Linked DNA regions of Homo sapiens: region 2 is linked to region 1. The links are contacts of gene promoters, found by promoter capture Hi-C in human tissues and cell types (Jung and others, 2019). All regions are on one chromosome and are shown on one strand. The core of a region is centred on a gene start or on the middle of the fragment in contact, and the rest is flanking DNA. Distances in the headings are between cores, read along the strand shown. Region 1 has its middle 8.3 kb from the start of PDIK1L. Region 2 holds the start of CATSPER4 (cation channel sperm associated 4).

What was found. The method cuts DNA at HindIII sites, captures the fragments that hold promoters and counts their contacts. A contact is called where the count stands out against the background at its distance.
Region 2: a contact is called between the fragment with the promoter of CATSPER4 here and a fragment that was not itself captured in region 1, in 3 of the 25 tissues and cell types used here (aorta, lymphoblastoid cells and spleen).

What each region holds. Positions count from the first base shown.
Region 1 is chr1:26,101,877-26,105,135 of GRCh38, forward strand. No RefSeq gene overlaps it. Among named protein-coding and RNA genes, the nearest start is that of PDIK1L, 8.3 kb to the right of the region's middle. The HindIII fragment of the contact is 4,487 bases long and covers 1-3,259 here.
Region 2 is chr1:26,189,201-26,192,459 of GRCh38, forward strand. It overlaps CATSPER4 (cation channel sperm associated 4), which reads left to right and starts at 1,402. Exons shown (of 10, transcript NM_198137.2): 1 at 1,402-1,640; 2 at 2,087-2,230. The coding sequence starts at 1,428. It overlaps CNKSR1 (connector enhancer of kinase suppressor of Ras 1), which reads left to right. Exons shown (of 21, transcript NM_006314.3): 21 at 79-684. The coding sequence ends at 348. RefSeq lists an enhancer at 1,288-2,105. The HindIII fragment of the contact is 15,004 bases long and covers 1-3,259 here.

The DNA of each region.
Region 1 (3,259 bases), core at 325-2,824:
TGGAGTCTACAGGTTTGTCCAGGGTCCAGGAGGTCAGGACCATCGAGAGGCTAAGTGTGGTTATCTGTGCCTCCTTCCCAGCCCCTGCTCTAAATAACCATAGAGCAAATATTTGAAGAATGTCAGCTTAAAGGAGTGTCTCACTCTGACCCTCAAATTTCTATTTATTTTTTAAATTGACAAAAATTGTATTTATTTACTCATATGTACAACATGATGCTTTGAAATATGAATACATTGTGGAATGGCTAAATTTAAGGCCCAGTGTAAATGCTACCTCCTCTCTAAAGCTTTCCTGCCCGCCATTCCCCTCCACAGAAGCACAGTTTGGATTTCCTCCCCTGGGCTATGTAACCTCAGCTGGCACTGGTTGAATTGTACTGTCTGCATATTTATATGTCTGTCTCCCCTCCCAGAGAAAGTCCATGAGGGCAGGGACCTTATCTTTCTGTTCACTGCTTTTTCTCAGCATCAAGCACAATTTCTTGCACGTGGTGGATATTCACCAAATAGCTGTTGACTTAACGAACAAAGTGCCACCATGTGCCAGGCACTAGTTGACTTCTGAAGAGAGGGGTATATGTCAAGACATTTGTTAGCCACCCACCAGCCTCTGAATTTAAGCCTGCCAGTAAGCCCCATCCTTCAGGACACAGAGCTTGGTCAAGGAGGGGCCCACAACCCTATCTCTTACCCCCTACTCCCTAGCCCCTAGCCAATCAGGTCCAACAAGACTTAATTTCAGGAATGTTGTTTGAGGAATAGAGAAGTTGACTTTCTCATTCCTGCAGGATATGATCTCATAAGGCTGAATTCCCACTGGTGACCCCGAGGCCCACAAGGGAAGCCAGCCTTAAGATGAAGGCAGCATCATGGGAGGCAGAACAGAGGAAACTAGAGTCTTTGGTGACATGTGAGCTGCTGAATCAAACTTCCTTCCCGAAGCTAGCCCTCCCACCTCCATTTCTCTTAGGTAAATGTACCAATCATTCCTTTCAGTCACTTTGAGTTGAGTTTCTGCTCTTGCAACATGAAGCATCCAGAAGAGGCCAGAGAATCAGAGGAAGCCGAAGCTTTAACACTTCAGGACCTGCTGAGGAGTCGGGTGAATCCTCAGTTTGGGACACTCCCAACACCCCCATCCAGCATGGTTTTCAGATGGTGGCATCCCCAGCAGCTCTTGGACCCAGGGGCAGGAGATGTGAACCTGGGTCTTAACCATCAGCTGCTCCAGCTGTTCTCAGTCCTCACCAAGAAGACAACTAGGACCCATCCAAAGACAAAAACAGCTAATGTTATACCTGGTGCAAGACCTTTGTGGGCCCCCAGATCACTTGTCTCAGGGGCTGGATCAGAAATAAACATTTTGATCTTCTTATTACAAGCATAGTGGAGGTGTAGGATTCAAGAATCAGAGTGTTGGAGCTATAAGGATCCTTAGAGATGAGCTGGTCAGACCCCCTCATTTTGCAGATGGGGAGACTGAGGCCCACAGCAGGGGGGAGTCTTTCTTGCTCAAGATGACACAGCGTGTTAGTGCCAAAGCTAATACCCTTCCTAAAGGAGTTTCTCCCTCAGCCTCCCCCTGCAGAAATGGGGCTGGGGTGGCTGGGCACAGTGGCTCACGCCTATAATCCCAACACTTTGGGAGGCCGAGGTGGGTGGATCACCTGAGGTCAGGAGTTCGAGACCAGCCTGGCCAATATGGCAAAACCCCATCTCTATCAAAAATACAAAAATTAGCCAGGCATGGTGGCGCATGCCTATGATCCTAGCTACGCAGGAGGCTCAGGCAGGAGAATCGCTTGAACCCAGGAGGCAGAGGTTGCAGTGAGCCAAGATTGTGCCATTGCACTCGAGCCTAGGCAACAGAGCAAGACTCCATCTCAAAAAAAAAAAAAAAAAAGAAAAGAAAAGAAAAGAAATGGGGCTGGGGCTCCCCAAGCTTGGGAAGAAGAAGGGAGGGGACACTGTCGGGGATTCTCTCTGCTACAGCAGTTAGGAGCTGCTCCGGAAACATTCACTGACAGGCCTAGCCAGTCGCCCTTAATGACCTCATTGTGGCATTTTGATAACAACTTGTGGTTGGCTCAGTGGGTACTAGGTCTCTAACAATGCATCAATGATGCCTCTCATAATTTCTCCAGAGGAGAAATTCAGGGTCAGCAATCTGGTGGGAAGAAAGACTCCAAGATGTGCCTTGGGGACAGGGTGTATATGGGAAGTCTGTAATTTCCACTCAACTTCACTGTGAACCTAAAACTTCTCTAAAAATAAAGTCTTTTAAAACACACACACACACAACCGGGCATGGTGGCTCATGCCTGAAATCCCAGCACTTTGGGAGGCCAAGGCGGGCAGATCACTTAAAGCCAGGGGTTCAAGGCTAGCCTGGCCAACATGGTGAAACCCCATCTCTACTAAAAATACAAAAATGAGCCAGGAGTGGTGGCATGCGCCTGTATTCCAGCTACTCGGGCGCCTGTAATTCCAGCTACTCAGGGGGCTGAGGTGGGAGAATCGCTTGAACCCAGGAGGCGGAGGTTGCAGTAAGCCAAGATTGTGCCACTGCACTCCAGCCTGGGGGACAGAGCGAGACTCCATCTCAAACACACACACACACACACACACACACACACACACACACACGCAGTTAGACCCCAATTGAAGTGCCTGTGTGACTTTGGACAAGTTCTTTCACCTCTTAGAACCTTTGTTTCCTCAGTTGTAAAAGGGAGGACAATAATAGCACATGCTTTACAGGGTCACTGTGCAGATTAGATGAGATCACTCTATAAACAGTACTTTGCACAGTGCCTCGCACAGAAGTTAGTATGAATATTACCTATTATTTATTTATATTACCGATTTGTATTTATTTATCTATAGTTTATAGGTAAAATTGCTCCATGATAATCTGCTTCCTGTGGACCCATTCTAATTAGGGACAGCCCATTTGCCTCTTCCCATGTGACCTCTCTTCAGATAGGAAAAGTAAGGCTCAGATTCATGTTGATTTATGGGGCTGGGGACCTGGAGTCCAAAGACTCCAGGAGTCTTGGCTCCACCAGTGACTTATTAGGAACCTAAGTTACTGAGTCCCTTTGAGTCTCAGTTTCTCCAGATGTAAAAGGCTATGCTCATATTCTCCACTTCGTAGGGTTCTTGCGGGATAAAGGACTTGGATCTTGACAGGTCTGGGAATTCAGACCTGCTTTAGTGAGACTGGAGCATCAGCTTCACTAATGGAACCTGCCAC
Region 2 (3,259 bases), core at 152-2,651, 87 kb after region 1:
TCCGGAGTGAAGTCTGGCCTCGGGCTCTGCCCACTTCCCTGGGTGATCATGGTCCCTTAGCCCCTCCTCTCCACACAGGCAAAGCTGCAGGAGCTGCAGGTCCTAGAAGAAGTGCTGGGTGACCCTGAGCTGACAGGAGAGAAGTTCCGCCAGTGGAAGGAGCAGAACCGGGAGCTGTACTCAGAGGGCCTGGGGGCCTGGGGAGTGGCACAGGCTGAAGGCAGCTCCCACATCTTGACCTCTGACTCCACAGAACAGTCCCCCCACTCCCTGCCCTCTGACCCTGAAGAGCACTCCCATCTCTGCCCCCTGACCTCAGAGAGCAGCCTCCGACCTCCTGACCTCTGACCCTGGCCAGCACTCTAGCTCCTGACCTTTGACCCGAGGGCCACCTCAACCCCAGCTTCTGACGTGTCCAGGACAGAGCATCCCTGGATTCTGTTCAGGGTGGGAAGTAGTACTGCTAGTCATGGTCTCACCCCGAGCTGACCCCTCTGCCTGGGCTTTGTGCCACCCTCTCCCTTGCCAAAGAAGAAACTCTCCCCCCAAATCCTCCAACCTCTGGGGCCACAGCCCTGCCCCTCCAGTTCCTTGGCAGTTCTCCCCCAAACCAGGTCTGTACAGGTGTTCTTTATTTTACATGAGGGCTACTTTCCAACCAAATAAAGTCAATTTTTCTAAGAATGAGTCTACATGTAACTTTACTTCCATATTCGAATTGGAAATCTGCCCCCCTGTGGGGACTGGGGTGAGTGCTCTTGGCCAGAGGGTGGGTGGCAGACCCTTCGTGCAGCCCGTTGGCCTGGGCTCTGTACCCGAGCTCCAAGCCTGCCAGGATGGTGGGGGATGACCCATGGCTAATGAGGGCTCCGACTCATGTCCACCTCTCCCCAGCTCTTTGAAGGCTAATGGTGATCTCCTACCCCATTCCCGGGGGGCACACAATGAGAAACTTCCACTTTGTAGATGGGGAAATGCACTTTGCACGGAAAGGTGGTGGGGACAGTCCTGGAGACTGGGCTGGTAGGACAGGGCAGCTGGTGGGGAAGGGTGCAGGTTGAGGTCTGCCCTGGGAAGGCCCTGGGGAAAACACTTCTCTCCTTCACTCCTCATTCCAGCCTCACCTCCACCTCCTGGATCCAAGGCAGGGACATGTCCCTGTGACTCCATTCAGGCTGCACGGGAAATCTGACCTGCTCCCATCAGCCTCTGACTTCCAACCCCAGCCCAGCATCCCCACAGCATCCCCAGACTTCCTCTGTGGGATGCGGAGGAGGGCCAATGGGAGGAGCTTCTCTCCAGGTTGGAATTCCTCAGTAGAATGCAGACGGCTGGAGGTCACAGAGGCCTCTGTGATATCACCACGAGGGGGAGTGAGACCACTTGGAGTGAAGATTCTTTGAGGAGAAGGAAGAGACTGAGCAAACATGAGGGATAATGAAAAGGCCTGGTGGCAGCAATGGACCTCCCATACAGGCCTCGAGGGGTGGGGCGGGACTCAGGAGGACCGTATGGGGTTTGGAGGGGCAGTAGCTGCACTGAGGGGCCGCCCCTCTCCCCTGCAGAGTACCATTCACGAGTCCTACGGTCGGCCAGAGGAGCAAGTGCTCATCAACCGCCAGGAAATCACGAACAAAGCGGTAAGGATAGCTCTCGCCCCACAGTGGCCCCTTCTGCAGCTGTGCTCATGGGCAGCAGGCCCTCATGGTAACTCTGCCCCTCTACCCTCTAAACGCCCCCAGAAGACCCTCCCTAGCACTGATCCCTGAGTGACTGCCCATGATATGTTAGTAACTCTCTGGCAATGCCCCCCATAGGAACCCTTATATAACGATCATCTTCACTATCAGAGAGCCCAAAGAGATTCTCTGGCAATGACTTCCACAAAATCCCCCGATAGTAACCCACTTTTAGTGGCCATTTAGATAGTGATCTCTACACTGATGTCTCCATTCCATGATCCACTCTCAGATGATTTCCCCCCTCTAGAGTGGGCCCCAGGAACCCCCATTCTCTAAGAGCAAACCCCCAGGCAGAGGCTTCCTATGGTGACACCTGCCTGAAGGAAGGTCCTGCCCTCTTCCAGGACGCCTGGGACATGCAGGAGTTCATCACTCACATGTACATCAAGCAGCTGCTCCGACACCCCGCCTTCCAACTGCTGCTGGCCCTGCTGCTGGTGATCAATGCCATCACCATCGCTCTCCGTACCAACTCCTACCTGGACCAGGTGGGATGCCAGCATGACCTCTGCCCCACTAACCCTAATGGGGGGCCTGGGGCAAGAACTCTTCCGGCCTCAGGCTCCTCATCTGTCTATGATGGTTGGATTGGATGCTCTTCAAGGGTCTGTCAGCTCTGACCTTCTAGGAATCTGGAGATCAAGGAAGACTTCATGATGGAGAGGGCTCTGCAGCCTGGCTTTGAGGAATGCATTGGATTTGTACAGGAGGGACAGGAGAAGAATGGTGTGAGCAGAGGGAGGCAAATGGGTGCCTTGTGGAGAAGGGGTATCCAATTCTAACCAGCAGTCACTAAGGGAGAATCACTCAGTGCCAGGCACTGACTGTGCAGACTGCCAGGGTCCCAGGGATAATAAGCACAACTGGGTCCTGTCTCAGACACACAGAAACTGTCATTACAAGTGCTCAAGTAGCACCCAGAGTACATGGAGGCTCAACGAAGGCACTCGAACCTAATCTCAGGGGTCAGAGCTGGCTTCCTGGAGAAAGTGACACTGGAGCTGAGAGTAAAGAAGTAGGATGTGATCTCAGTCACCACAACAAAGAAACAGAAAAAAAGAGCACGTAGGAGTTGGCCAGGCAAAGAGAGGTGGGGGAGACTTTTTGGGGAAAAGAAACAGCATGTGAGAGACTTCTCTGTGTCCAACTTGAAGTTTAGTGTGACTTATCCTTGATGTTTTAATTTCTTTTTTTTTTTTTTTAGAGACAAGGTCTCACTCTGTCACCCAGGCTGGTGTGCAGTGGCGCCATCTTGGCTCAATGCAGCCTTGAACTCCTGGACTCAAGTGATCCTCCTGCCTCAGCCTCCCAAGTAGCTAGGACTACAGGCACGAGCTACCATGCCTAATTAAAAAAATGTTTTTGAGCCAGGCGCAGTGGTTCATGCCTGTAATCCCAACACTTTGGCAGGCCAAAGTGGGTGGATCACCTGAGGTCAGGAGTTCAAGACCAGCCTGGCCAACATGGTGAAACCCCGTCTCTATTAAAAATACAAAAATTAGCCAGGCATGGTGGTG